Linked DNA regions of Homo sapiens: all the other regions are linked to region 5. Evidence: promoter capture Hi-C in 16 types of primary human blood cells and fetal thymus (Javierre and others, 2016). All regions are on one chromosome and are shown on one strand. Each heading gives the region's core, a stretch centred on a gene start or on the middle of the fragment in contact. The rest is flanking DNA. Distances are from core to core; before and after follow the strand shown.

Region 1 (6,045 bases), core at 1,356-3,855, 840 kb after region 5:
CCCATCTCTACTAAAAATACAAAAAATTAGCCGGGCGTGGTGGCGGACACCTATAGTCCCAGCTACTTGGGAGGCTGAGGTGGGAGGATCACTTGAGCCCAGGAGGTCAAGGCTACAGTGAGCCATGATCACACCACTGCACTCCAGCCTGGGTGACAGACCAAGACCTTGTCTAAGAAAAGAAAAAAGAAAGATGGGCCGCCCAGAGTCTAAACGGACCCTGAGTTTCTGAATAATGACACACTGAAGTGCACCCACGGCCACACCAGCAGCCCCACTGGAGGCTGTGTGGGGCCCTCTTGCTAATGCATCAGCATACACTGTGGTACACCCCACAGTGTGTCCACCACCTGTGTAGGCAGTGGGCAAAGTAAAGTTGTTGAAATGGGAAGTCACAAAAAGAGCAGAGGTGAGACCGCAAGATCATGAGGGCTCACATTTGCTGGCCTGGGCTAAGGGCCAAGACTGCCACAGTCTACCTTAGACTTCCATTTGATGAACTCTAGCACCCCAAGTTAGGGTCACACTGGTGGGCTCTTCCTACCAAATACTCAGGTCCAGGACTTTTCTTTGGACTACATCTTTTACCCTTGGTGTCATTGACTTCAAGAGACCTAGAGAATCAAAACTCAGATTAGGGCCAGGTGTGGTGGCTCATGCCTATAATCCCAGCAATTTGGGAGGCCGAGGCGGGCAGATCACTTGAGGCCAGGAGTTCGAGACCAGCTTGGCCAACATGGCGAAACCCCGTCTCTACTAAAAATACAAAAAACTAGCCGGCCGTGGTGGTGAGCACCTGTCGTCCCAGATACTTGGGAGGCTGAGGCACGAGAATCGCTTGAACCCAGGAGGCGGAGGTTGTAGTGAGCTGAGATGGCGCCACTGCACTCCAGCCTGGGCGACAGAGCGTCTCAAAAACAAAAAACAAACAAACAAAAAATACCTAAAAACTCAGGTTAGGCCTGCTCTGCTTTTGAAAGTTTTTCCTGCCCTGGGGCCTGAAAAGCACCTGTGGGGTTTAGGTCTTAATTTGGCAAGGTTGAAAGAATCTCCAAGCACTCACAGCTGGATGAAACATCACTGTACCTCCTCAGGCACCCATACTGCCAGCCCTGATCCAGAGGGAGAGAAACACCTCTACGTGGAAGAACCACGGCGGCCTGCTCCCACCAGAAGTCTGAATGGGTTTCCAGAGGACCCAGCGGACCTCCTGTTACAGAGATGCTGTAGTCCTGCAAGAACGTCTCCCTGCATGAGTCCTTAGGGACGGAGCTGGGGAGCCTCCATTTCCCACATAAGCCCTTCTCGATTATGCTTTCCATATCATCCCTTGTTTGTTTGTCTGTTTTGAGACAGGGTCTCTGTCGCCCAGGCTAGAGTGCAGTGGCGCGATCATAGCCCACTGCAGCTGCGACCTCCCAGGCTCAAGAGAGCCTCCCACCTCAGCCTCCTGAGTAGCTGGGACTACAGGCGTGCGCCACCATGCTCGGCTCATTTTTTTGTATTTTTTTTTTTAGAGATGGGGTCTTGCCATGTTGGCCGGGCTGGTCTTGAACTCCTGGCCTCAAGTGATCCGCTATCTTCTGCCTCCCAAAGTGCTGGGATAACAGGTGTGAGCCACCACACCCGGCCCTGTTTTATCACTTTCATCACTCAATCCCCTGAGAATTATGACACCTAAACCAGGAAGCACCTCTGCACCTTATCTCGGACCCAGGATTCTAGGCTTCAGGGTCTCTCGTTCTGTTAAGAAAACAAAATAAGGACTCGTGCTGGGCGCTCACGCCTGTAATCCCAGCACTTTGGGACGCTGAGGCGGGAGGACTACTTGAGCCCAGGTGTTCAAGATCAGCCTGGGCAACATAGCGAGATCCTGCCTCAAATTAAAAAAAAAAAATTAAAAAAGAAAAGAAGTACTGGTTTGGACCAGGGAATCTGGGGAAGGAGAACTAGTGCAGACATGGGCTTTGGTTAAGCGGTCAGGGCACCTTCATAGCGCTGCAAGAAGCCACTACATGCCCACTTCCTCCCCACCAACAGCCCAGCTTCCAGTAAAGGGTCCATGACGCAGCTCCTCCAAGCAGCAGCGTCCCACCCTGATCCCTTACTCCTCAGGACTATTTACACCTCCCCCATCCTGCGGGCCCCACTTGAGACAGTGGTTCCTGAGAGCCGGGCCCCACTAGCAAGCCAAGGTATATTCTTGGCCTCCTGCAAAGATGCCCCTGTCCTATAGACCTCTGCGCGGACCGTGGGCACCCCCACTTCTCCAGGAAGAAGTAGGTGGGCAACACTCAGGGGAAGTCAAGCTTAGCGCCCCCAGTCTCCTCCCCACTTCGGCTCGGTCCCATCTCTCCAGGACAAGGCGCCAGCAACGGAGCCACAGGCCGCACCAGCCCGTCTTTGATCCCGGGTGTTCGGACTCAGGGCCTCCACCACCCCCTCCTAAACTCGGACCCTGGGCCGTGGGAACCCAGTTTAGGAACCCAGGAAGATGCCGGAACCTTCCTCAAACGAGGCCACTCTAGGAAATTGGGAATTTCACATATCGTTAGCACTCAGTCGACGTTTATTGGCCTAAGAACGAAAGAACCGGAAGATGCCCTTAAAAAGCGTGGCGGCACTCTAGCTTCAATCGGTTGCCTCAACATATCAAGAAACCTGGCATTGTATATGGCCCTCAAAAGATGACGCCACCCGGTCCACCACGGTTCAACGAGGACTAAGACATCTGCCCTCAACCATCATGGCGGCGCCACTCAGTTTGGCTTCCTGCCCCTAGGGATGATGGCCGCCAGGTGGCTTCACTTAGTTTCTCACCACCCCGGAAGACGGGGACCGGCGATTGGGCGGTGTCCAGAGGCTCCGAGAAGAAGGCCATCGGCGGTTGGGCAGCGTTGGGTAAGCTTGGTTTTTAAAGGAGCCGGAGGTGGGAGCTGCGGAAGACCCGGGATCCACGGGAGGCGGCGGTGAGCAGCCCTTGGGGGAGGGCAAGGAGTGGCTGGAGAGAGGGCGGGAGTGGGGGCGGGGAAGGAAACTTCTGAACCATCTGGTCCCGGGCCGGGGGAGACCGCTGGGCGGGGACGCGAGGAGGGAAGGGGCGTCTGTGGGCGGGACCTCCCGGGATTGGAGTGAAGAGGGTATCTGCTTGACAGTGGATCCCTGGGGATCTACGCTGAGTTCGGAGATGCTCCAGCTCGGGCCGCCCCTGTCTGAGCGGAGCTTTGCGGCGCTGAAGCTTACAGGGGAAGGAAAAGCCTCGCCCGGCGTCTGATTGGCGGAACCGCGCTGTAGGATTCTTTCCTCAGGGATCCAGTCTAGGGGATCTGGTGGGATGGAGGGTCGTCGATGTATGGAGTATTGCTTTGGAGTCCTCGGCCACTCGCTGGGAGAGGAGGAGGATCGCAGAGGGATCCAGCGGAAATAGCCTCCCAGGACCGGGATCCCCGTGGATCCCGGGGGATCTCGGGGCATAATCTGCAGGGACAAAGGCCTCGGGAGGCTCGGGCCGCGGGAGAACTGGGGCCGCTGCATTCTGGGTTCTGGCGGCAGGTGCCAGGCAGGGCGCGAGTGATCCGCTGATCGAGGCGGTGGCAGCGGGAGGACACCCGCTCCGGGCGACCGGCCGGGGGCGCCCTTTCGCGCCCCAGGGCTGCGGCCGCTGGGCTACGGGGAGCCGCGGGCGGACCATGAAGGGCGGAGCCCCAGGGAAGGGGCCGGCCCTCACCCCCCGCTCCCCCGCTCCCCCCTTACCCCAGGCCGCAGCCTGGGATTCCCCAGGGACCCCCCCGGAGCCGCCGCGTCTCCCATGGACTTGCCCGGGGACTCCAGGTGAGAGCGTACCCGGGCGGCCCGCCTGTCTTGACCCCGGGAGATGGGGATCCTGGCGACCGTGCCGGGAAACTACAGAGCCAGCGACAGGTTCGGGCGACCGTCCTCTGCTTCTTTCACCCTCCAGCCCGCCTGGCCAGCCGCGTCTGTGCCGCCAGCCTCTGACTCGAGCATTATGGGGAGCCAGGAGCCCGAAACGGCCGAGGCTGCAGCTCCCGGGGGCCCCTTCTCCCCTGGAAAAGGCCTCTCGGCGGGTCCTGGCCGTGGTGCTAGAAGATGTCATGGCTGTTCACATGGTGAGCCCCCTGAACCAAGAGACTCTCTATTCCCCCATGACTTTCCTCACTACCAAACTCGGGCCAGATCCCTACTGAGGATAACTGAAGTCCAAATCCATCATTGTTGTACTCAGCCCTCAGGCAGCCTCCCTCATGGTAGAGTCCTGCTTGGCTCCCACTTACTCCAACCTAGAATTGGGCAGTGCCCATTCCACCCACCAACGATTTTGGGCTGGAACCACATCCCTGTAACTCTGAGAAACTCTTCTGCTTCTTTTTTTCTATCTTTTTTTTTTTTTTAGAGACAGGGTCTTGCTATGTTGCACAAGCTGGTCTCAAACTGGCATCAAGCGATCTTCCCATCTCTGCCTCCCAAAGTATTGGGATTACAGGCGTGAGCCACGGCGCTGGGCCGAAACTCTTCTGCTTTCTTCCCAGCCCAGCCTCCTTAGGAAGCAGGCTGAGGTCTTTGACTCCACTGCACAGATAAGAAAAACTGGCCCAAAAAAGGCAGTGACCCACCCTAGCTCACCCTGTCTTTTTCATTTCTCTAAACAGCGTGGATGAGATTACCCAGGTCCTACACCTGCAGTTTAGGACTCTTAATATCTGGCCCCTAATTCAGTCCAATTCATCTCTTCTCTTGGGATCCGAGTGAATTCTAGCCCCAATCTCTGTTATGTTTGTGGCTCAGGGCACTGTGAGGCACAGGGAAACCTTGTCCCGTCCAGCCTCATTCTATCACCTTGCTCTTGACACCTCTTTCTCTTCCAGGTCCCCGTGGTGCCCTCAAAGCAGACCTCCATACCACAGCACCACAGCTACCATCAGGATCCTGTCCACAGGCAGCCGCCTGCCTCGCCACCCCGGCAGGCCGGGTGGTCCTCGCAGGCCAGGTGAGCATGGCAGGATGGGGGTAAGCCGAGGGCCCAGCTGAGCCATTTTAATCTTCCTGTTCCCTCGCTAGGCCTCCCGACCCTCTGTGTTTGTGTCGCGAGCCCTTGAGCCGCATCCACCGGACCTCTTCCACCCTGAGGCGGCGATCAAGGACAACCCCTGGCCCAGAGGAGGGCCCTTCACAAAAGGTGGACCGGGCCCCCCAGCCCACCCTGGTGGTGATGCTGGAAGACATCGCCAGTCCTAGACCCCCCGCTGAGGTATGGGAACTGAGGGTACGGATGTCAAGGGTTCTGCTGGGTTCCAGCAGGGATAGAAGGGTAGGAGGCCTGAGTCTTAGGTGGGTTTTTCTTGGGGTGAGGAGGATGGCATTTTAGGCGGCAGACACTGCCTGAGCAAAGACTATATAAAAACGTCTTTGGCGTGAACCCAAGCAGCTATCCGGGAACTGAAAGAGTCAGGATGTGGGGCACTAAGGGGGCTTTCCTGCCTCCCCACAAACATCCCCTATTTTTATCCAGGGCTTCATTGATGAGACCCCCAACTTCATCATCCCAGCACAAAGGTGAGAGGGCTGGAGTAGGGATTATCAAAGGATCCAGGCAACAGCCATCATCCAGGTAGCCAGAGCTAGGGGCATCGGGACTGACTGATCCAATCCTTCCTTGTGGCATCTTAAAAAGCCTTAAGGGGCCGGGCACGCCCATGCCTAATGCCAGCACTTTAGGAGGCCAAGGCAGGAGAATCGCTTGAGCCCAGGAGTTTGAGGCCAGCCTGGGCAACCACATCACTGTGACCATATCTCTACAAAACGTTTTGTTTATTTATTTGTTTGTTTTTGAGATGGAGTTTTTGCTCTGTTGCCCAGGCTGGAGTGCAATGGTGCGATCTCAGCTCACTGCAACCTCTGCCTCCTGGGTTCAAGTGATTCTCCTGCCTCAGCCTCCCGAGTAGCTGGGATTACAGGCATCCGCCACAATGCCCGGCTAGTTTTTGTATGTTTAGTAGAGACGAGGTTTCACCACGTTGGCCAGGCTCT
Region 2 (6,130 bases), core at 2,488-4,987, 580 kb after region 5:
GGCCGGAGGCAAAGCGGGTGGGGAGAGAGGGGGAGAGAGGGAGAGACGGAGAGAGGGAGGGAGGGAGGGAGGGAGGGAGAGAGAAGTCTGAGTGGTGAAGGCGGAGTCACGGGTGGTGGGGACGAGTCCTCAGGGCGGGGTCATGGGTGAGGCGGGACCTTGGAGGCTCTGATACTGTCCGCCCCGGGTCTCACCTGCGGCTGGCTCGATCGCGAGCCCCAGGCCGGGCCAGGCTCTGTAGGCAGCGGGCCCGGTAGCCCTCGTAGAGCAGATCGTGCGTCACCTCTTTCAGGTCCTGCAGGTGTGTCTGCACCAGCATCCGTCGCAGGTTCAGGAAATCGCAGTGATGTGGGTTCTCCACTGGAGGGGGGGCGGCGCGGACCAGCGAACGTCAGGGAGTTTCGGGTCCAACCCACCCGTAAGGGTCGGGTCTACAGGAAAGTCCTGCTGCCACTCTAGCGGAGGGTCCGCGGTCTGCAGCCCAGCGACCCCCCTTTCCTCCTAGGATCCCCTGGGACCAAAGCCCACCCCAACTTCACATGTTGAGTGCGCCTGACCCAGAGGCCCCGGGCTCCCTGCTGGCCTTAGGACCCCTGCCTGGCCTCACTCACCCTCCACGGTCCCCCAGGAGTAGCGGCGTCCCCTCACCGGCCGGTTCCCGCCATCCCTCACCACCTCGCATGATCCCACGACTGCAAAAGGGATGCTTTCCTGGAGGGCAGGGGGCAGGGGTTCACCATTGGCTCACACGGCAGAAACTTTCTCTTTCCCAGCTTCAATCTCCACACCCGCCTCCTCTGCTTCCTGCCCCTTCCTCTTTTTTTTTTTTTTTTTTTTTTTTTTGAGACAGGGTCTCACTCCATTGCCCAGGCTGGAGTGTTCAAGTGATTCTCCTGCCTCAGCCTCCCGAGTAGCTGGAATTACAGGCGCCCACCATCACACCTGGCAAATTTGTGTATTTTTAGTAGAGGTGGGGTCTCGCCATGTTGCCCAGGCTGGTCTGGAACTCCTGACCTCAGGGGATCCTCCCGTCTCAGCCTCCCAAAGTGCTGGGATTACAGACGTGAGCCACCGTGCCCGGCCTGCCTTCCTTCTTTGTTTCCCACACCTTCATCTCTGCATCCTGCCTCTTGAAGTCTTCATCTTCATCAGAGTCACATTCGGGGAACTGGTAGATGTGGATCTCCTCTTCCTTCAACTGATCCCGGATCTCAGGGGAAACAGATATAGAGACAGTGTGAAACGGGCCACAATGACAGACATTTCATGACCAGAGACAGTGAGACACAGAGATACTGGGTGGTCAGAGACAGAGAGAAAGACATGAAAGACAGAGATGGGGAGAGATGGACATACAGGAAGACAAAAACAAAATCTCAGAGACATAGATGGTGAGAAACACAAGATTCTAAGATGGGGCAGACATTAAGAGACCAGGAGAAGCCTGGGCAATATAGCTAGATCCCATCTCTACAACAAATATACACATATATTTTGAAACAAGGTTTCACTCTATCACCCAGGCTGGAGTCCAGTGGCTCCATCTTGGTTCACTGCAGCCTCAACCTCTCAGGCTCAGGTGATCCTCCCATCTCAGCCTCCTGAGTAACTGGGACTACAAGTGCACACCACCACACCTGGCTGGTTTTTGTACTTTTTGTAGAGATGGGGTTTTACCATGTTGCCGTGGCTTGTCTTAAACTCTTCAGCTCAAGCAGTCCACTGACCTCAGCCTCCCAAAGTGCTGGGATTAACAGGTGTCTGCCACCAAGCCCAGCCAAAAAAATATTTTTTAAGTTAGCCAGGCATGGTGGTGTTCATCTATAGTCCCTGCTACTCAAGAGGCTGAGGCAGGAGGATCACTTGCGCCTACAAGTTCGAGGCTGCAGTGAGCTCTGATCTTGCCACTGTACTGCAGCCTGGGCCACAGAGTGAGACTCTATCTAAAAAAAAAAAGAGAGAGAAAGAGAGGCCGAGAGAGATATAAGCAGAAACAGTGGGAAAGGGCTCTGAAGACACGGGGTGGGGGCCAGAGGGAAGTCACTATGTTCTCATGTCTATGCTCCTGCCCTCAAATAGGCCTCAGCCAGGCATCTAGCCCGGGGGCTGCATATGTAGCCTATTTTGAGCCTTCAGAGACATGGCTATGCTGGCGGCTTACCACCCGCCTTCCTCAGAAGCTTCTCCTACAATCTAGCCTGATGCACCATGCTCCAGAAAGGCCACTTCAAGATCAAAGAAGTCTAAGCTGAAATCAGGTTTGGCTTCACATGGGGTCAAAGGTCAGAGGTCATCACTCACACCTTCTGCTTGAGGGCCTGGGTTTCCTGGGGCATCAGAGCATCCGCTTTGCCAATGACTGGGATGATGTTGACTTTCTCGTGTACTGCCCGGAGGAAGGCCACATCTAGGGGCCGGAGCCTGCACCCAGGGATTGGTCATTGCCCAGCCTCAGGGGGCAGAGACCCCCCAGCCCTCCCTAAATGCGCCAGCCCCCAGGATCCCCCCACCAGACCCCCGGCCGAAGGGTGAGATGAAGTAGAGGCAGCAGTGGACTCGGGAGTCCTGGATGTTCTTCCGGTTCAGGCCACTCTCATCCCTAAGGTACTGCTCAAATTGCTCCTCGATGAATTTCACCACCGGAAGCCAGCTGGGTGTGGGGAGAGGATGTGAGGTCAGAGATCAAAGGCCAGAGGGCAGGGGGCAAGGCTAGCCAGGACTGTGGGAGTAGAATGTCATTTCTTTGGCTCCCTCCAAAGACATTAAGGGGAACTGGTGGGGGCCTAGGTGAGTCATCAAGAAGCACAGGGACCCAGTGGCCCTCTGAAACAGACACCACCTTTTGAGATAGGGAGCCAGCACAAACCAGTCCTGTAACTCTCCAGGGAGTCGCCACTGTGAAAGGCTGAGCCTCTGTCCCCTTTCCTCTTCCTCACCAGTCAGAGCAGTCCACTGAGTCCCCAAAGCCAGGTGTGTCCACAAGGGTCAGCTTCACTTTCACACCCCCTTCCTCAATCTCTACGCCCCGGCGCTCAATGGCCAGGGTCTGTGTCAAGCGAGCTGTGGGATGGGGGAGAGGTCAGGGATCCGGGGAGGCTCTGAGGCAGAATTAATTTCCTTTGTCAATATCACAGTTGCCTGCACCCATTTCCCAGGGGAGGAAAGTCTCAGAAAAAAAGCAGTCAACTACCTGAGTCCCCAGATGGAAAAGACTAGGGTGTAACCTGGGGACAGGGGCTACTGCCTCAAGAGGGTGGGGAGGGTCTTACCACTGGCCTCTGGCACCTGGCGATCCTCATAGAGGTTGGTGAGGAAGAGGCTGTTGATGAGGGTGGATTTCCCTAGGCCTGACTCCCCTGTGGACAGAACAGGCCCAACTGGTCAGGGGAGGGGACAGCCAGGGCCTCCTAAGGACATCCCCTCCGCAGTTCCCTCTCCAAAACCCCCAGACCTGCCACCATTAGCGTGAAGTCAAACCCCTTCTTGACAGACTTGCGGTGCAGCTGGTTGGGGAGGGCAGCAAAACCCACGTACTCCTTGTCCTATGGATGGGGGTGGACAATATGAGGCTGCTGGCAATGGCAGGCAGGGTCCCCAGGATCACTTGAGTTCCTGGGCTAGGAAGAGTCAGTGGGGTCTGGGGACCCCAGGCATGGGGGCTGGGGGCCGAGATGCCCAGGTTTCTGGGTGTAAGGACTCACCATGACTCCGCCAGCCATCACTGCACCTGCCGTCTCTCCCCACTTCCTCTGGTGGGGCAGGAAGCTGAGTGCGGCTAACAAGGGGGCGGGCAGAAGAGGCAGCTGAGATGCTCAAACTGGCCCAGTCCCAGAGAGGTGGGGAAGGCCAAGGCCAAGAACACTTGGGGTTGCCACCTCCTGGACCCCTTTGCCCATCACCTGTCTACGTACCTTCAACCCTCCATCCTTCACACATCTGGATTCCAAGTCCCACTGTAGCTCCATCATCGTGGTGAGACATGGGGTATGTGCAGAGAGGAAGGAAGTGGCTCCCTTTGTTAGCAGGGGAGATGAAGGTTTTGATGAGCTGATTAGAAAACAGTTCCCAGGACGGGCAAGGTGGCTCTCGCCTGTAATCTCAGCACTTTGGGAGGCGGAGGAGGGAGGACAGCTTGAGCCAAGGAGTTCCAGACCAGCCTGGGCAACAGAGGGACGTGCCCCTCTACCATCTCTACAAAACATTAAAAAATTAGCCAGGCATGTTGGTACAATCCTGTAGTCCCAGCTACTGGGGAGGCTGAGGTGGGAGGATTGCATGAGCCCAGAAGATCAAGACTGCAGTGAGCTGTGATCACACCACTACACTCCAGCCTGAGCAACACAGCAAAACCCTGTTTCTTTTTCTTTCTTTCTTTCTTTTTTTGAGACGGAGTCTCGCTCTGTTGCCCAGGCTGGAGTGTAGTGGCGCCATCTCGGCTCACTGCAAGCTCCACCTCCCGGGTTCCCGCCATTCTCCTGCCTCAGCCTCCCGAGTAGCTGGGACTACAGGCACCTGCTACCGCGCCTGGCTAATTTTTTTGTGTTTTTAGTAGAGACGAGATTTCACCGTGTTAGCCAGGATGGTTTCGATCTCCTGACCTCGTGATCTGCCCGCCTCGGCCTCCCAAACTGCTGGGATTACGGGCGTGAGCCACCATGCCAGGCCAACGCTGTTTCAAAAAAAGAAAAAGAAAAAAGTGGACCAGAAGCCATGATGGGATTGGGAGTGGGTGAAGCCATACATTTTCCAGCTCAGACAATGGATTCATAAAAGGACTCCAGGTCTTTGGACACCACTGCCCGAGAGATTTTCCTTCAGAATCCTGGCCAAAGAACTCCACTGCTCAAAATCCTTCAGGAACTCCCCAGTAACTCAGAGTCAAGTCTGAATTCTGGCCTGACTGCCAAAGCCTCCCTCAGCTGGCCTCATCACCCCATCTCTCACTCTTCCAAACGTCCTTGGCTCTCTACCCACATTGAGCTTTTCCTTTTTCTGAATCAGTTAAACTCTTCCTCATCCTTCAAGTGTTTCTTTCCAAGGGCTCTGCCTCTATGCAATCTCTCCACCTACCCTAGGCAGGGTCATTGTCCCTCCTTCAGATTCCCAGCACCTGGCTGGCGTGGTGGCTCACACCTGTAATCCCAGCACTTTGGGAGGCCGAGGCGGGTGGATCACTTGAGGCCAGGAGTTCAAGACCAGCCTGGCCAACATGGCGAGACCCTGTCTAGCAAAAATACAAAAATTAGCCAGGCATGGTGGTGCGTACCTATAATTCCAGCTACTTGGGAATCTGAGGCAAGAGAATTGCTTGAGCCCAGGAGGTGGAGGTTGCAGTGAGCCGAGATTGCACCGCTACACTCCATCCTGGGCAACAGAGCAAGACCCTATCTCAAACAAACAAACAAACAAACAAATCTACCTCAGGACCGCTGCGGTGGCTCACACCTGTAATCCCAGCACTTTGGGAGGCTGAGTCGGGCAGATCACGAGGTCAAGAGATTGAGACCATCCTGGCCAACATGGTGAAACCCCATCTCTACTAAAAATACAAAAAATTAGCTGGGCATGGTGGCATTGCCTGTAGTCCCAGCTACTCAGGAGGCTAAAGCAGAATTGCTTGAACCCAGGAGGTGGAGGTTGCAGCGAGCCAAGATCGTGCCACTGCACTCCAGCCTGGTGACAGAGCAAGACTCCGTCTCAAAAAACAAAAAACAAACAAACAAAAATGCTACTTAATACCATCTAGGGACTGTTAAGAATCTGGAAAGGGGGGCTGGGTGCGGTGGCTCATGCCTGTAATTCCAGCATTTTGGGAGGACAGGGCAGTCGGATCACTTGAGGCCAGGAGTTCGAGACCAGCCTGGCCAACATGGTGAAACCCCCGTCTCTACTAAGAATACAAAAATTAGCCAGGCATGGTGGTGCACGCCTGTAATCACAGCTACTAGGGAGGCTGAGGCAGGAGAATTGCTAGAACCTGAGAGGCGTAGGTTGCAGTGAGCCAAGATCCTGCCACTGCACTCCAGCCTGGGCGACAGGGCAAGACTCCGTCTCAAAAAAATAAATAAGTAGGCCAGGCGCGGTGGCTCATGCCTGTAATCCCAGCACTTTGGGAGGCTGAGTCAGGCAG
Region 3 (6,097 bases), core at 93-2,592, 880 kb before region 5:
TCAGCAGCTGGGGCGTCTGGGGCCAGAGGACCAAGTACAAAGAACGTGGGGCGGAGGTGGGGAAGCTGGTGCATGGCGTGGGGTGGAGGGGGGAGTGTCTGGGGAAGGCTAGAGAGCAGAGCATTAGACTCACAGAGACTGGGCCAGGGCTGATTCTATTTCCCAGAAGTCCAGACTAAAATGAGGTTGGTTTGGGGAACTGAGAAGTTTCTCGCCCATCTTCAGGGTTGATCAATCATCAGTGAGGGACAAGAAATGACATGGGACAAGGCAACAGATAGAAGCTGGGAGCTAAACTTAGCTATAACTGACAGAGCTGCTGCTATCACATGGAGGGCCTCTATGCAAATTTTAAAAGGGCGGCCCTTCCTCTGGGCCATAGGCATGCCCTGTGCCAGGCAGCCCTGCTAACCTATCCCATAGCTTATCTGTGCCCCCAATCCCTTTCTCGTCATGCACTCCCCAGTATGGGGTTGATGGGGAGTCTAGGTGAGTCCCGCGTCTCACCTTTCAGGATGGCCTGCAGCGAGGCCACCTCCTCTTGGCACTGCCGCTGCACCGCAGCCACAGCCTCGGCCTTCGTGCTCTCGCTCACCTCTGCCACAGCCTTCATGGTTTCCATTTCTGCCAGGGCGCCTGCCAGCTCAGCCCGAAGCCGGCTGAGCTCACCTGACTCGGCCTCACCATTTGCCCCTTCCTGGGACCGGGAGTCCTCCAGTGCTGTGGGGGACAGGGATCAGCCTCTCTTCCCATCTCTTACCCCAGGCCACCTACCGGCTTAGCAAGTCCTGCAACCTAGTACTGTTGCCTTCATCTGGGGCCTCCTTCACCTGGGCCCGCCCGGCTCACCTGGCCCCGCCCCTGCCCCGCCCCCTTCCCACTCGCTCTGCCGGGTGCTGCCTACACTCCATCTCTTCGCGGTGGCCAGTTTCACTCAGTCCTCTCTTCGGTCCCACCTGGCCCCGCCCTCCTAGTGGCCGCGCCCCTTCCTCACCGGGCCCCACTTCGCACCTGTCACTGGCCCTACCCCTTCAATGGCCGGGCCACGCCCCCTTTTGCCTGTGGCTGTAGGCCCCGCCCCCTTTCCCGACGGCGTGGCCCCGCCCCTTCCTCCATCATCCCTCTCCACCCCCCATCCGCAGGTGGCTGGCTCGGCCCCGCCCCCAGCATCACCGTTCCCCGCTTGCACGGACGCCCCCTCACGTACCAGCCCCCGGCCGCCGCCGCCGCTCATCGTCGTCCGCGGCCACCGGCGCAGCTGCCGCCATTGCCTCAGCGCAAACGGCGGATTCCCGCACTCCCTGGTGACGGAGCGCACCGCTTCCGGGTCCTCTCGGCTGTTTCCGGATCCGCTCGGCTGTTTCCGGATCGGCCCCGGGCTGGAGGCCCCGGACGGAGGATGGGGGGATTGCCGAGCCTCGGCCGAAGATTCCCGAGTCGGCCCCCGGCCCCGGCCCCGGCCCCGCCCCGGCTCTTCTTGGCTGGGTCGCGCGGTTCGGGAGGACGCCTGCCTTTCAAGCCCGGAAGAGGATCCTTAAGAGGTCTTGCCCGGCGTCTCTCCGTGACCTTGGAAGCCCTGCTCCAATTATGCCTCCTCCGGGACACCGGCCTGCGGAGAGCTCCCCCTCGCTCCCTCGCTGCCCCTGCCCGGAGCCAGCCTTTGATCGGCTCCGGCCGCCCTTCCGCCCGAGCCTGGCTTGCGTTACCGCGAATTGTGGCGGGGCCCTCCCTGCACCTCCGCCCTCTTGGAGCGTCCCTCGGGGCAGGGCCGGGTCGGCTTCATTTTTCTGAGCGCCTCGGAGTCCCCGCGTAGTTAGTCGGAGTCTGAAACTTGCACGTCCCCACCCCCATTTTGTTACTCAGCCAGTCACCGCTTCCTGCTGGCCCCCCTTTCCTCCTCCCAACGCCCTCAAATCCCTCCTCTCCTCTCCGCCTGTGTCTAGATCAGGCTCTTTATCTGTGACCTCCACCCGGACGGTGACAGGCAATTCAGATTTATGTCCAGAGCCTTGGTTCCCCTTCCCTCAAACCTTTTTTCCCTCTGTAAAGGACACGCCAGGAACCTGGAAGTCCTTGATTCTACGTGTCCTCCTGCAAGTCCCGTAAACTCTACTTCCAATGTGCTGACTATTCCAGAATGTGCCCCTTTTTCTCCATCTCCAGCGCTAACACTCCGTCCCAGCTCCCATCACTTCTCCTGAACTTCCGCAGTGTCGACTCCACCCTTTAATTAATTAATTCTCCGTAAAGCAGCTGGAGCGATTTTTGTAAAACAGATAATGCAGTTTGAAAATGGCCAAAGGTAGAACGCTTTTACACTGTTGGTGGGAATGTAAATTAGTTCAACCATTGTGGAAGACAGTGTGGTGATTCCTCAAAGACCTAGAACCAGAAATACCATTTGACCCAGAAATCCCATTACTGGGTATATACCTAAAGGAATATAAATCATTCTATTACAAAGATACATGCACGAGTATGTTCATTGAAGCACTATTCAAAATAGCAAAGACATGGACTCAACCCAAATGCCCATCAATGATAGACTGGATAAAGAAAATGTGGTACATATACACCATGGAATACTATACAGCCATAAAAAGGAACGAGATCATGTCCTTTGCAGGGACATGGATGAAGCTAGAAGCTATTATCCTCAGCAAATTAATGCAGCAACAGAAAGCTAAACATGCATGTTCTCACTTATAAGTGGGAGCTGAACAATGAGAACACATGGACACAGGGAGGGGACCAACACACATGGGGGCCTGTGGGGTGGGTGTTGGGAGGGGGGAGGGAGAGCATCAGCAAGAGTAGCTAATGCATCCTGGGCTTGATACCTAGGTGATGGGTTAATGGGTGCGGTAAACTACCATGGCAGATGTTTCCCTGTGTAACAAACCTGCACATCGTGCACATGTACCCCAGAACTTGAAATAAAGAAAATGGACAAAGGATATGAACGGATATTTCACTGCTGTCACAGGTGGCAATATGTGCATGAAAAGATGTTAAACATCATTAGCTATTTATTCGGGAAATACAAATTAAAACCACAATTGCTTTCATCACTACGCACTTCTTGGAATGGCTAAAATAAGAATGCTAACACCAAATGCTGGTGAGTATGTGGAGAAACTAGGTTTCTCATATTTTGTTGATGGGAATGTGAAATGGTATAGCCACTCTGCAAAAAGAGTATGGCAGTTTTGAACAAAACTAAACACGCACTTACTTTTTCATCAAGTATAAAACCAAGTGTTTTCCACCAAGCTTGGAGCTGAGGTCTCGGCTCAAATGTTACCTCCTCAGTGAGGCCTTCCCTGATCACCCTAACTAAAATAACCACCTCTGGCTGAGTGTGGTGGCTTATGCCTATAATGCTAGCACTTTAGGAGGCCAATGGCAGGAGGATCACTTGAGCCCAGGGGTTCGAGACCAGCCTGAACAACATAGTGAGACCTCATCTCTACAAAAAATTAAAAAATTAGCTGGGCATGGCCGGACACGGTGGCTCACGCCTGTAATCCCAGCACTTTGGGAGGCTGAGGAGGGCGGATCACGAGGTTAGGAGATCAAGACCATCCTGGCTAACATGGTGAAACCCTGTCTCTACTAAAAATACAAAAAATTAGCCGGGCATGGTGGCATGCGCCTATAGTCCCAGCTACTTGGGAGGCTGAGGCAGGAGAATTGCTTGAACCCGGGAGGCAGAGGTTGCAGTGAGCTGAGATCATGCCATTACACTCCAGCCTGGGCAGCAGAGCAAGACTCTGTCTCAAAAAAAAAAAAAAATTAGCTGGGCATGGTGATGTGCATCTGTAGTCCAAGCTACTCAAGAGGCTGAGGCGGGAAGATCTACTTGAGCCCTGGAGGCTGAGGCTGCAGTGAGCATGATTGTGCCACTGCACTCCAGCCTGAGGGAGAGAAAGACCCTGTCTAAAAAAAAAAAAAAAAAATTAAATCCAGACTCCCTGTGCATGCAGCAGGGTTTCTGGGGAAGGGGCTGAAATAATGACTAGAAATCAGCCTCCAGTCAGTTTGGGGAGGGCCTTCCTGACAGCTCTCAGGTTTGAGTTTATCCTGCAGGCCCTGGGAGCCACTGAAGGCCATTGAACAGGGGAAGCACATGACTAACATCAAAGAAGTTCTCTTGACATGCGGAGTGTAGATGGGAACCAAAAGATATAGGGGACAGGGAGCCCAGGAGAGAGGCTGTTGAATTGCTTCTGATTGTGAAGGAAGGATTCAGAGGGGAAAATTGATTCCATCAATATTTAGGATATAAAATGGACTGGCCTTGATGATAGAGTGCATGTGGGGGAAGAGAAAAGAAAATTTCGACCAGATGCGGTGGCTCATGCCTGTAATCCCAGCACTTTGGGAGGCTGAGTTGGGTGGATCACCTGAGGTCAGGAGTTCAAGACCAGCCTGGCCAACATGGTGAAACCTTGTCTCTACTAAAAATAGAAAAATTAGCTGGGCGTGGTGGTGCGCACCTGTAATCCCAGCTACTCAGGTGGCTGAGGCAGGAGAATCACTTGAACCTGGAAGGCAGATGTTGCAGTGAGCCGAGATCGCATTACTGTACTCCAGCCTGGGCAACAAGAGTGAAACTCTGTCTCAAAAAAAAAAAAAGAAAAGAAAATTTTCTTTCAGCTAGGTACGGTGGCTCATGCCTGTAATCCCAGCACTTTGGGAGGCTGAGGCAGGAAGATTGCCTGGGCCCAGGAGTTCAAGACCAGCCTGGGCAATATAGTGAGAAAGGAGAATAAAAGGAGCTTTCCTCGCCTCTACAAAAAAAGGGAGAGAGTTTTCTTCCTAACTTCTTTTCCTTTTTTTTTTTTTTTGAAATGCTCTTGTCTCCCAGGCTGGAGTGCAATGGCGCGATCTTCACTCACTGCAACCTCCGCCTTTCAAGTTCAAGCGATTCTCCTGCTTCAGCCTCCCAAGTAGCTGGGATTACAAGCGCGCACCACCGCACCAAGCTAATTTTTGTATTTTTAGTAGAGATGGGGTTTCACCATGTTGGCCAGGCTGGCCTTGAACTCCTGACCTCAAATGATCCGCCCCGCTCAGTCTCTCAAAGTGCTGGGATTACATGAGCTACCTTGCCTGGCCCCTAACTTCTTTTCTTTCCTTTATCCAGCAAATACCTATTGAGTGTCTACTAGATGCCTGTGCACATCTAGGGATGGTAAAGATTTCTGTTCTCAAAGAACATTCTGGTGCAGGAGGCAGATGAGAAGACTAGCAAATACACATGCATAATTTGAGATTGGGGCAAGTGCTGGGAATGAAATAGGGGCATGCGATCAAAAAAGCATGTGAGTAAAGGGAATTTGAGAAGGTTTTCTTTTTCTTTTTTCTTTTCTTTTCTTTCTTTTTTTTTTTTTTTTTTTTTTGAGACAGAGACTCTGTCATCCAGGCTGGAGTGCAAAGGTGCAATCTCGGCTCACTGCAACCTCTGCCTCCCAGGTTCAAGCAATTCTCCTGCCTCAGCCTCCCGAGTAGCTGGGATTATAGGCATGAGTTAATTTTTTTGTATTTTTAGTAGATACTGGGTTTCACCATGTTGGCCAGGCTGGTCTCATTCTCCTGACCTCAAGTAATCCACCCGCCTCAGCCTCCCAAAGTGCTGAGATTACAGGCATGAACCACTGTGCCCAGTCTTTTTTTCATATTTTTTGTAGAGATGGTGTTTCACCATGTTGCCCAGGCTAGACTTGAACTCCTGGGCTCAAGTGATCCTCCCACCTCAGCCTCCTGAGTAGCTGAGACTACAGGTATGCACCATCATGCCCAGATACATTTTTTTTGGTATTTTTAGTAAAGACGGATTTCTCCATTTTGCCCAGGCTGGTTTCGAACTCCTGGGCTCAAATGATCTGCCCACCTGGGCTTCCCAAAGTGCTGGGATTACAGGCGTGAGCCACCGCGCCCAGCCGAGATATATATATATATATATATATATATATATATATATATATATATATATAGAGAGAGAGAGAGAGAGAGAGAGAGAGAGAGAGAGAGAGAAAGAAAGAGAGCAGGCTCTTGTTGCCCAGGCTGGAGTGCAGTGGTGCCATCTTGGCTC
Region 4 (5,345 bases), core at 1,431-3,930, 620 kb after region 5:
GTCCTGTGGCCATCTTTCTAGGTTGAGGTCTGGCCTGTGGAGTCACAGGGAATGTCCGCAGGCCCCACAGCCTGGTCTTCAGAGATGGCCCCATGGGGCAATTCTGTATACTTGCGGGAAGAGCTGCGGGCCAGATGGGCTGGGTAGCGTCGCCGGTTGATGTCCATTTTGGAGAGCACTGCTAGCGGCAGATCCACACGGCAGCGGGCTGCTAATGCCACCAGGTAGATGAGGACGTCACTAAGCTCCTCTTGAAGGGCTGCCCGTTCCCTGGGGGACCAGCCTTGGGGGCCAGGTTCCCCATCGGTTTTCCACTGACTAGGGGCAGAACACAGACAGACACACACTCAGATGTAACCTGGGGCAATGGGCTCTGCCAGTCCTTGCAGTAATAACACCCACCTCCAAGGACGACCTAACCAATCTGGGCCCTGGGAAGAGTCAGGTGGGGAAGAGACCCCGACAGATGATACCAAGATGTCTGTGTCTCTCCCTGGGCCAAGGAGTGGCCAAAAGAATGTTTCATCTGTTGAGACAAAGCTTTGAGGCCCAATTCTAATTCTCTCCAGCCCTAGCCGTCACCACCACAGACCAAACCTCGGACCTGGACCACTGCAGAAGCCTCCCCACTCATCTCCTGGCTAGCTCATCTTCTACTCCTGCCCAGACCATCTTTTCTATTTTTTGAGACGGAGTCTCGCTCTGTCGCCCAGGCTGGAGTGGAGTGCAATGGGGCGATACTGCAACCTCCGCCTCCCGGGTTCAAGCGATTCTCCTGCCTCCGTCTTCCGAGTTGCTGGGATTACAGGCATGTGCCGCCATGCCCGGCTAATTTTGTTTTTCTAGTAGAGACAGGGTTTTGCCATATTGGCCAGGCTGGTCTCGAACTCCTGACCTCAGGTGAGCCGCCCTCCTCGGCCTCTCAAAGTGCTGGGATTACAGGCATGAGCCACCGCACCCGGCCCACACCATCTTTTAAAAGCACAAATCAGGCTTGGCGCAGTGGCTCACGCCTATAATCCCAGCACTTGGGGAGGCTGAAGCGGGTGGATCATGAGGTCAGGAGTTCAAGACCAGCCTGGCCAAGATGGTGAAACCCCGTCTCTACTAAATATACAAAAAAATTAGCTGGGCATGGTGGTGGGCACCTATAATCCCAGGTACTCAGGAGGCTGAGGCAGAGAAATTCTTGAACCCAGGAGGCAGAGGTTGCAGTGAGCCGAGATCGCACCACAGCATTCCAGCCTGGGAAACAGAGCAAGACTCCGTCTCAAAAAAACAACAAAACAAAACAAAATGAAACAAAAAAAATTGGCTGGGTGCCATGGCTCATGCCTGTAATCCCAGCACTTTGGGAGGGTGAAGTGGGTAGATCACCTGAGGTCAGGAGTCCGAGACCAGCCTGGCCAACAAGGTGAAACCCCATCTCTACAGAAAATACGAATTAGTTAGGCATAGTGGCGCATGCCTGTAATCTCAGCTACTTGGGAGGCTGAGGCAGGAGGGCAGAAGAATCGCTTGAACCCGGGAGGCGGAGGTTGCAGTGACCCGCCATGACGCCATCACACTCCAGCCTTGGTAACAGGAGCAGAACTCCGTCTCAAAAACTAAACAAAACAAAACAAAACGAGACCCCACAAATTGTATTTTTCCCCTTCTCTGCTAAAATACAAACTGTGCTTGGAATACAATCTAAACTCTTGACAAAGCCCTCCTGTCCTGCATGGGCTGACGCCTGCCTTTTCCAATGCCACTGCCCCCCACTCTCACTCCCCGCCTAAGGCCACTTTGGCTTGTTCTGCCTTGCACACAGGCCAGACTGTCACAGGCCTTTTGCATTCACTGCTCCCTCTGCCTTGAATGCTTCCCCATCCCCCATCATTCCCAGGGCTAGCTCCTTCCTGTTATTCAGGGCTCAGCCTAGATGTCACCTCCTGGCTCGTCACCTTGTGTGTTTTTTGTTTGTTCGTTTTTGTTTTTGACAGAGTCTTGCTCTGTCGCCCAGGCTGGAGTGCAGTGGCACGATCTTGGCTCACTGCAAGCTCCGCCTCCCAGGTTCACGCCATTCTCCTGCCTCAGCCTCCTGAGTAGCTGCGACTACAGGCGCCTGCCACCACACCCAGCTAATTTTTTGTATTTTTAGTAGAGATGGGGTTTCACCGTGTCAGCCAGGATGGTCTCGATCTCCTGACCTCATGATCCGCCTGCCTTGGTCTCCCAAAATGCTGGGATTACAGGTGTGAGCCACAGCACCTGGCCGGTTTTTTTTTTTTTTTGAGACAGAGTCTTGCTGTTGCCTAAGCTGGAGTGCAATGGCGTGATCTTGGCTCACTGCCAGCTCTGCCTCCCGGATTCAAGCGATTCTCCTGCCTCAGCCTCCTGAGTAGCTGTGATTATAGGCGCCTGTGACCACACCCGGCTAATTTTTGTATTTTTAGTAGAGACAGGGTTTCAGCCTGTTGGCCAGGCTGGTCTTTTTTGTTTTGTTTTGTTTTGTTTTTTGAGACGGAGTCTTGCTCTGTCGCCCTGGCTGGAATGCAGTGGCACAATCTTGGCTTACTGCAACCTCTGCCTCCAGGGTTCAAGCAATTCTCCTGCCTCAGCCTCACGAGTAGCTGGGACTACAGGGGTGTGCCACCATGCCCAGCTAATGGTTGTATTTTTTAGTAGAGACAGGGTTTCACCATGTTGGCCAGGCTGGTCTTGAACTCCTGACCTCAGGTGATCTGCCTGCCTCGGCCTCCCAAAGTGCTGGGATTACAGGTGTGAGCCACCGCACCTGGACCTTTTTCGTTGGGTTTTTTTTTTTTTTGAGACGGAGCCTTGCTCTGTCGCCCAGGCTAGAGTGCAGTGGCGCGATCTCGGCTCACTGCAAGCTCCGCCTCCTGGGTTCACGCCATTCTCCTGCCTCAGCCTCCTGCGTAGCTGGGACTACAGGCGCCCGCCACCACGCCCGGCTAATTTTTTTGTATTTTTAGTAGAGACGGGGTTTCACCGTGTTAGCCAGGATGGTCTTGATCTCCTAACCTCATGATCTGCCCGTCTCAGCCTCCCAAAGTGCTGGGATTACAGGTGTGAGCCACCCCGCCCAGCCCCTTTTTTGTTTTTTTTTTTTAAGGCAGAGTCTTGCTCTGTCGCCCAGGCTGGAGTGCCATGGTGTGATCTTGGCTAACTGCAGTCTCTGCCTCCTGGGTTCAAGCGATTCTTGTGCCTCAGCCTCCTGAGTAGCTGGGATTACAGGCGCCCGCCACCATGCCTGGCTAATTTTTGTATTTTTAGTAGAGACAGGGTTTCACCATGTTGGCCAGACTGGGTCATCACCTTGTGTTCTTTTCCTCATAGAACTTGTCATAATTCCAGATCTTCTAATATGAGATTACTGATTTACTGTCAATCTCCTTCCACTGTGAAGGTGGAAACCTTTCTGCCTTGTTCCAGGCCATATCTCAATTCTAGAAGACCTAGCACATAGGTGATGTTCATAAATCTGTCATGAGGCCATGTGCAGTGGTTCAACCTGTAACCCCAGTGCTGCGGGATGGTGAGGCAAGTGAATCACTTGAGACCAGGAGTTTGAGACCAGCCTGGGCAACAACAGCGAGAGATCCCATCTCTACAAAAAGTAAAAATAAATTAGCCAGGCTTGGTGGTGGCGCACGCCTGTAGACCCAGCTACTCCGAAGGCTGAGGTGGGAGGATCGTTTGAGCTCCTGAGGCTTCAGTGAGCTATGATCACACCAGTACACTCCAGCCTCAGCAACAGAGTGAGACCTTTTCTCTTAAAAAAATGACTGTCCTGGTCTAGGGCTCATCGCCTCTTGCCTGGTCTACACCAGCCAACTCTCTGGTGTCCCCTGCCCCATTCTCTCAGTGATCCATCCAATCCACCCTGTAGACACAGTGACCTTTCCAACACTCATATCTGGTCAGGTCTTCTGTCCAAACTCTCCATCATACTCTAGCCCTAATCATATCTTTGTGGGTTCAACTCCCACCCCTCTCCTCCACAGCCCTATCACTCATCCAACGTGTGCCTATTGAGCGCCTACTATGCGCTGGGCACTTGGGACACATCAGAGAAAACAGATCCCAAATCCCTGATTTTTCCTGAGATGCTTACAATGAAGGAGCGTCAGATTCTCCCTGAATTGAACTTGCCCTTTCTTGCCTCACTGCCCCTGCAAATGTAGTTCCCATGTCTGGAATGCCACAGGCAGGTCCTCTACAGAATACCTTCCTTTCAGCCCCAGAGGCAGAGGAAAAGGGTTGTTGGGCCAGGCGTGGTGGCTCACCCCTGTAATCCCAGCACTTTGGGAGGCCAAGGCGGGTGGATCACCTGAGGTCAGGAATTTGAGACTAGCCTGACCAATATGGTGAAACCCCGTCTCCACTAAAAATACAAAAATTAGCCAGGCGTGGTGGGGGGCACCTGTAGTCCCAGCTACTCGGGGGGCTGAGACAGAACTGCTTAAACCCAGGAGGCGGATGTTGCAGTGAGCCGAAATTGAGCCACTGCACTCCAGCCTGGGCGACAGAGCGAGACCCCGTCTCAAAAAAAAGCCAAAAAAACAAAAAACAAAAGAAGGGAAAAGGGTTGTTGCCACTGCTTCTTCCTAGACGGGACCTGTCCTGATGCTTTCACACCTCACACCTCTCTCTTCCAGGAGGCTGAGTGCCCCTAGAGGGCAGGGACCCGTGAGTCCTCTCTGCATCCCAACAACAGCAAAGAGCCTAGCAATCAGGAGGGGAAACTGAACCCATGAATGTTTGAAGACCAAATAAATGCTCCCCTCCCCTCCCCCACAACTCAGACTCTACCAGGAAGCTTTCCATCTACTCACAAGAGTTCTGCCAGCTCCCCCACTTCCCCAACCAAGGCCAGGAGGAGATTCCGAGGCTGATGGAACTGTTCCCAGTCTCGTTCCGCAGCAAACTCAGCATGGAGGCGGCGGCTGAAATAGGACAAAGGAGTGTAAGTCCAAGTCTCCGGGTTAGAGGGTGATGCAGGGGCCAGAGGCAGCTACCCCCGTAGTATGTAATGGGGCCTGGGACCAGGAGATTCTGCAACTAATTCATTGGATGGTATTGTGCAGGTCATTTCCTCTTTCCGGAACTTGGTTCCCTCATCTATAAAATGGGCGTGCCCCTGAACTGCCCTTAACATCTCGCCAAAACTAACAAAACCCTCTTCATTATTCCATCTCCTGCTGCTACTTCTGCAGTTTCCTCCACCTGGAATCGCCGCACATCAAAATGCAATTTCTCTTACAGAAGGTAGTTCCACAGACCCTTCCTCTAAGAAGCCTTTCTTGACCTCCTCCAGCAAAAAATAACGTCTCCCACCT
Region 5 (5,795 bases), core at 405-2,904:
TCAGCCCGGAGCTACTGGCTCATGGGCGCCAAAAAATACTGGATCTGCTGAACGAAGGCTCAGCCCGAGATCTCCGCAGTCTTCAGCGCATTGGCCCGAAGAAGGCCCAGCTAATCGTGGGCTGGCGGGAGCTCCACGGCCCCTTCAGCCAGGTAGCAGCCCACTGGACTGGGGGAGGGCGGGGGCGGGGGAGACCGGGTACCCCCGAGACCCTGTCCCCTATCGATCCTGTCCCGCCAGGTGGAGGACCTGGAACGCGTGGAGGGCATAACGGGGAAACAGATGGAGTCCTTCCTGAAGGTGAAGTCACGGCCCTGCCCCTCCTCTGCCTGTCCTGCGCCCCGCGCCCCTCTCTAACGTCGCTGTCTCCCTCCCTCCTGTGTTGCAGGCAAACATCCTGGGTCTCGCCGCCGGCCAGCGCTGTGGCGCCTCCTGACCGTCGTCTCCTCACTCCGCCTTTTCAAATTTTTGTATAACCCCGTGTTGTGTAAATACAGTTTTTGCTCCGGTGCTTCCGCCTGATTTTTGGGGCTGCGGGGGCGGGACCGGGGTGTGACCGCCTCGGGGTGGGCCGCGAGCAAGGCAGGCGACTCCACTGGGCGCCATCTTCGGGGAACGACTCAGCGCAGGATTGTAAATACACCGCTGGGGTGGGGCGGGGAGGACGGTGGCCTGCAGGACGCAAAAAGCGGAAGCCGAAGCATGAGGCCTGCGACCGTTAGGCGGGCGCGCGCTCAGGGATTAGCCCCGCCCCGTCCGTGCCCCCGGCGCGCGCGCTCCCCCATTCTCCCGCTCGGCAACGACGGCGGCCTTGTGCGCGTGCGCGCGAAATAACGGCCGCTGGCGGAGGGAGGGGGAGTGGAATCGTTGGCGGGGGGAAGAGGAGAGAAGCCGCCCTGTCTCCCGCGCGCCCACCACCTGCGCCATCGTCAGCCAATCAGCAGCCGTCTCAGGGGTCTCGCGCTCGGGGCGACTCGGGCTGCTGGGTGGCTCCCCCGTCCCTCCTCCCGCCAGAGTCCCTCTCGCGCCTGCCCCTCCCGCTGGCCACGCGCGCGCTCGCGCTAGCGCTCGCGCCCGCTCCAGCCTCTTGTGTGTCCTCGCGCCCCCCGCCCGCCCTCCCCGCGCGTAGTGTGCTCCGCTTCCCCCACCCTCCACCTCCCCCCTCCTGCCCGCCCCGCGCGCCTCCTCCCGGGTTCCCCCTCCCCCACCGCCGCCGCCTCCTCCTCCCGCCCCAGGGTGAGCGCGAGCCACCTCCCTCCCTCCCTCCGCCATGGATCCCAGCAACTGGAGCAGCTTCATCTTCCAGGTAACAACTCCCTCCCCCCGCCCCCACCCCCCTGCCCACACCCCCTCCTGCCCGCCCTCCCTCCCGTCCCACCCCCCCTCCGCGCGCCCGGTGCGCGCGCAGCTGTCCCCCTCCCTCCCTCGCGCCCTCCCCCGCCCTCCCCGAGGCGCCGGCTGGGCGCGCGCGCGGCGGGGGCCGAGGCTGCTCCCTCGCTCCCCCCACCCCGCCCCGCCAGGCTCCAACCGCCGCCGCCGCCGCCGCCGCCGCCCGGGCCCCCGCCCCCGGCCCCGGCCCCGCGGGGCCTCCCGCCCCCACCCAGGGGGCGTCGCCGCCGCCGTCGCCGCGGCGCTCCGCGGCCCGCAAGGCGCCCTCTTTTCCTCCCTCCCGCCGGCCGGGGTGCGCGGGCGGCGGGGCGGCCCGCGGGCCATGCGTTCGGCGCGGCCCAGCCCGGCCGGCCGGGGGCGGCGCCCCGAGCCCGGGCCCCGCGCGGCCCGCGCCCCCGGCCCCCGCTGAGCCCCGGGGGCCCCGCTGCGGCCGAGGCCATGTTCCCGGTGTTTCCTTGCACGCTGCTGGCCCCCCCCTTCCCCGTGCTGGGCCTGGACTCCCGGGGGGTGGGCGGCCTCATGAACTCCTTCCCGCCACCTCAGGGTCACGCCCAGAACCCCCTGCAGGTCGGGGCTGAGCTCCAGTCCCGCTTCTTTGCCTCCCAGGGCTGCGCCCAGAGTCCATTCCAGGTGAGTAGGGCCGGCCGCGGCGGCCCGGGCTGGGGGGGGACGCCCGCCCGCACCCGCGGCCCACTCGGCGCCTTGTCTCCGCAGGCCGCGCCGGCGCCCCCGCCCACGCCCCAGGCCCCGGCGGCCGAGCCCCTCCAGGTGGACTTGCTCCCGGTGCTCGCCGCCGCCCAGGAGTCCGCCGCGGCTGCTGCGGCCGCTGCCGCCGCTGCTGCCGCCGTCGCTGCCGCGCCCCCGGCCCCTGCCGCCGCCTCTACGGTGGACACAGCGGCCCTGAAGCAGCCTCCGGCGCCCCCTCCGCCACCCCCGCCAGTGTCGGCGCCCGCGGCCGAGGCCGCGCCCCCCGCCTCCGCCGCCACTATCGCCGCGGCGGCGGCCACCGCCGTCGTAGCCCCAACCTCGACGGTCGCCGTGGCCCCGGTCGCGTCTGCCTTGGAGAAGAAGACAAAGAGCAAGGGGCCCTACATCTGCGCTCTGTGCGCCAAGGAGTTCAAGAACGGCTACAATCTCCGGAGGCACGAAGCCATCCACACGGGAGCCAAGGCCGGCCGGGTCCCCTCGGGTGCTATGAAGATGCCGACCATGGTGCCCCTGAGCCTCCTGAGCGTGCCCCAGCTGAGCGGAGCCGGCGGGGGAGGGGGAGAGGCGGGTGCCGGCGGCGGCGCTGCCGCAGTGGCCGCCGGTGGCGTGGTGACCACGACCGCCTCGGGGAAGCGCATCCGGAAGAACCATGCCTGCGAGATGTGTGGCAAGGCCTTCCGCGACGTCTACCACCTGAACCGACACAAGCTGTCGCACTCGGACGAGAAGCCCTACCAGTGCCCGGTGTGCCAGCAGCGCTTCAAGCGCAAGGACCGCATGAGCTACCACGTGCGCTCACATGACGGCGCTGTGCACAAGCCCTACAACTGCTCCCACTGTGGCAAGAGCTTCTCCCGGTGTGCACGGGGCCTCGGCCGCCCGCTAGGCCGTGGGGAGGGAGGGACGCGACGGAGGTGGCCTGGCCGTGGCTGGCGGGGAGGGAGGCGGCTGCTGAGGCTGGGGAAGGGGAGCCACTCCCAGGGCGGAGGGAGGAAGCCTCTCCCGGTTACCAGGGAGCAAGGGGTGGTCCTTTGTCGAGGAGGTGGGCCTTGGGGTTGACGGAAGCTTCGCGTGGGAGGAGGCGGCGGCGGCGGCAGCGGCTGCTGGGCTCCAGGGGAGGGATTTCCTGCTTAAGTGTCGCTGTGACGGCCTGGGCTCCGGGAGGAGGCGCAGGGATCCTCGGAAAGGCCTGTGGTGCGGTTTGGTGGATTTGGGGCGCACCACCTCCGCCCTAACCCCAACCCCAACGTGTCCCCAGGCCGGATCACCTCAACAGTCACGTCAGACAAGTGCACTCAACAGAACGGCCCTTCAAATGTGAGGTAGGAAGCCCGCCTCCTCCTGTCTTGGTTTTCATGATTTTGATCCTCATGGTAGCTGTCTGAGTCAGTCTCTCAGACCCCCTTTTTCTCTCTCTTCTTTTTGCCTTTTTGCTCCATTTTCTCATCCCTTCTTCAAGGCCTCATCATGTCACTCCCATTTCCTACAGATCAAAGATCCCCAAGGCTCTGATTCCTTTAATCTCTTGCTCCCCCCTCCCCAGCCCACCAAGCTTTAACTCTCCTGTGACACCCCCCACGCCCCTCCCCCCTCCTCAGAAATGTGAGGCAGCTTTCGCCACGAAGGATCGGCTGCGGGCGCACACAGTACGACACGAGGAGAAAGTGCCATGTCACGTGTGTGGCAAGATGCTGAGCTCGGCTTATATTTCGGACCACATGAAGGTGCACAGCCAGGGTCCTCACCATGTCTGTGAGCTCTGCAACAAAGGTACATGCCGAGGGCTGCCGGGAGGGCCAGGGGCAGAGGGTGGGCGCCTGGCCAGACGCCTTGCCACGGATACGGGTTAAGGGTGCTGTAGCCAAGAGCTCGTGGCGTCTAGATTCCTACAAGAGGTCAAGGGAGCAGCGGGGGGACACCTGAATGAACATCATTAGACTCTAAGAAGTCCTGGTTGGAAGAGATGATCTGCCAGAGAGGTTGAACCTCCTGGTAATGTGTGGGGAAAGCGGGAGTGGAACTTGGCTGCTCTGGGGAAGGAGTAGTCAAGAAAGCCAGTTCCAGGGGTCACAAGGCAAGGTTTCCGCTGCGCAGCCACAAGGTCTTGTCTCCAGCTCCTGGGGCAGGTGGAGTACACGGGCCGGGCTTTACCAGCACGCACCCTGCACGGGTAGCAGAGAAAGCTGCCTTCAGTCAGACTCACCGGTTAACTGGGTTGAGACCGCGGGGCACTGGAGGGAAGGGGACACAGCCGTCTCTGCTGAGGGTCAACCCTGCAAGTGGCTAGGAGTCAGTGTCTCGTCATCCTGGGAGAGGTCTCCCGGCCATGGAGAATGAGTTCTGTAGGTACCAAGGCTGAGAAGCGGGCACCACACAAGCCAGGCCCCAGGCTCAGGGAGGGGCTGTGTCTACCAGCCCCAACAGAGCAGTTGGCCCCAGGCTACCAAGGATACCGTGGGAGGAGGACAGGGCCATCTGAGGAGGGCATCCCCCGCCTAGGAGATCAGCCCCGTCTCTGGGGTCTCCGCCTGGCTGACCCCCGCCCCATCCCAATCCACCCCCCAATAGGCTTCACCACGGCAGCATACCTGCGCATCCACGCGGTGAAGGACCACGGGCTCCAGGCCCCGCGGGCTGACCGCATCCTGTGCAAGCTGTGCAGCGTGCACTGCAAGACCCCTGCCCAGCTGGCCGGCCACATGCAGACCCATCTGGGGGGGGCCGCCCCCCCTGTCCCGGGAGACGCCCCCCAGCCACAGCCCACCTGCTGAGGGGGACCCCCGCACCCACCAGGCAAGGCGTGGGGCATGGCTGGGGGGCGGGATGGGGGGTGTGGGGGACAACGGGGCTCAAAGGGCCCAATAGGGGATCTCAGGAAGGCGAGGGATGCCCATGTACCACTCAGGCTAGGGAGACTTCTGGGCACAGGGAGGATCCTTGAGAACTGCTCTGTCTGGGTGAGGATGCAGGCTGAGGCCTCTGGGGTCCAGATAGGAAGTGAGCAACGGCTGTGTCCCAGGGGAAGCAGGCTGGGAAGGTGTGGGGTGAGGGCAAGGCTCTTGCCATTCAGATCGCGCTGTGATCCGTGGTGTTTCTCCTGTGCAGGTACTGGTGAGGTTTGTCCAATGGCGGCGGCAGCGGCAGCGGCGGCAGCGGCAGCAGCGGCAGCAGTAGCAGCCCCTCCCACAGCTGTGGGCTCCCTCTCGGGGGCGGAGGGGGTGCCTGTGAGCTCTCAGCCACTTCCCTCCCAACCCTGGTGAGCTCCAAGTTGGTTGCGGGGGAGAGGGGAGAATGGAGTAGAGTCCCTTGGTACAAGCTCCTCTCCCCCCTCTTTTCCCACCAACTCCTATTTCCCTACCAACCAAGGAGCCTCCAGAAGGAAAGGAGGAAGAAATGTTTTCTTAGGGGAATTCGCTAGGTTTTAACGATTTGTTTCTCCTGCTCCTCTTCTGTCAGACCTGACCCCACACAAACCTGTCCCCTCGGTTGTGTTGAAGTCCCCTGGACAGTGGGCAGGGGTGGCAGAGGACACGAGCAGCCACTGCCCGTACCCCCTCTCCTCTCTGTAAGCCCATGCCCTGTCTTCCCAGGGACTTGTGAGCCTCTTCCCTCGACGGTCCTCTTCTCTCCTTCCAGTCCTCTCCCCCTGCTGTCTGCAGCCCCTCCCCGGGGAGTTGGTGCTTTCTTTTCCTTTTTTT

The links. The method cuts DNA at HindIII sites, captures the fragments that hold promoters and counts their contacts. A CHiCAGO score of 5 or more calls a contact.
Region 1: a fragment that was not itself captured here is called in contact with the fragment with the promoter of MAZ in region 5 in 3 of 17 cell types (non-activated CD4 T cells, erythroblasts and naive CD4 T cells); the score reaches 6.6 in non-activated CD4 T cells.
Region 2: the fragment with the promoter of SEPTIN1 here is called in contact with the fragment with the promoter of MAZ in region 5 in 1 of 17 cell types (activated CD4 T cells); the score reaches 5.5 in activated CD4 T cells.
Region 3: the fragment with the promoter of RABEP2 here is called in contact with the fragment with the promoter of MAZ in region 5 in 3 of 17 cell types (fetal thymus, naive B cells and total B cells); the score reaches 8.8 in fetal thymus.
Region 4: a fragment that was not itself captured here is called in contact with the fragment with the promoter of MAZ in region 5 in 1 of 17 cell types (fetal thymus); the score reaches 5.7 in fetal thymus.

Annotation. Positions count from the first base shown.
Region 1 is chr16:30,647,838-30,653,882 of GRCh38, forward strand. PRR14 (proline rich 14) reads left to right here and starts at 3,123. Exons shown (of 12, transcript NM_024031.5): 1 at 3,123-3,290; 2 at 3,759-3,831; 3 at 3,959-4,127; 4 at 4,884-5,005; 5 at 5,077-5,266; 6 at 5,528-5,571. The coding sequence starts at 3,809. RefSeq lists enhancers at 1,845-2,362, 2,363-2,878, 2,582-2,991 and silencers at 3,012-3,211, 3,482-3,771. The HindIII fragment of the contact is 597 bases long and covers 2,308-2,904 here.
Region 2 is chr16:30,378,824-30,384,953 of GRCh38, forward strand. SEPTIN1 (septin 1) reads right to left here and starts at 3,738. Exons shown (of 11, transcript NM_001365977.2): 1 at 3,702-3,738; 2 at 3,452-3,542; 3 at 3,270-3,356; 4 at 2,937-3,060; 5 at 2,516-2,650; 6 at 2,304-2,421; 7 at 1,109-1,210; 8 at 612-711; 9 at 195-360. The coding sequence starts at 3,719. It also overlaps a transcript of ZNF48 not described here. RefSeq lists a silencer at 1-67 and enhancers at 1-546, 547-1,104. The HindIII fragment of the contact is 7,382 bases long and covers 2,179-6,130 here.
Region 3 is chr16:28,923,896-28,929,992 of GRCh38, forward strand. RABEP2 (rabaptin, RAB GTPase binding effector protein 2) reads right to left here and starts at 1,343. Exons shown (of 13, transcript NM_024816.3): 1 at 1,208-1,343; 2 at 508-720. The coding sequence starts at 1,268. RefSeq lists enhancers at 475-564, 595-824, 1,803-2,386 and silencers at 985-1,204, 1,235-1,584. The HindIII fragment of the contact is 8,433 bases long and covers 1-3,271 here.
Region 4 is chr16:30,424,216-30,429,560 of GRCh38, forward strand. It overlaps DCTPP1 (dCTP pyrophosphatase 1), which reads right to left. Exons shown (of 3, transcript NM_024096.2): 2 at 4,842-4,952; 3 at 1-318. The coding sequence ends at 18. Among named protein-coding and RNA genes, the nearest start is that of DCTPP1, 3.1 kb to the right of the region's middle. RefSeq lists enhancers at 3,918-4,418, 4,419-4,919. The HindIII fragment of the contact is 4,285 bases long and covers 539-4,823 here.
Region 5 is chr16:29,804,875-29,810,669 of GRCh38, forward strand. It overlaps MAZ (MYC associated zinc finger protein), which reads left to right and starts at 1,655. Exons shown (of 5, transcript NM_002383.4): 1 at 1,655-2,019; 2 at 2,104-2,954; 3 at 3,356-3,419; 4 at 3,696-3,867; 5 at 5,203-5,795. The coding sequence starts at 1,828. The coding sequence ends at 5,357. KIF22 (kinesin family member 22) reads left to right here. Exons shown (of 14, transcript NM_007317.3): 12 at 1-152; 13 at 241-300; 14 at 389-510. The coding sequence ends at 436. It overlaps MVP-DT (MVP divergent transcript), which reads right to left. Exons shown (of 4, transcript NR_186424.1): 3 at 5,161-5,299; 4 at 3,770-4,259. RefSeq lists silencers at 156-205, 946-1,285, 1,416-1,555, 2,456-3,125 and enhancers at 586-635, 3,206-3,445. The HindIII fragment of the contact is 3,714 bases long and covers 1-3,160 here.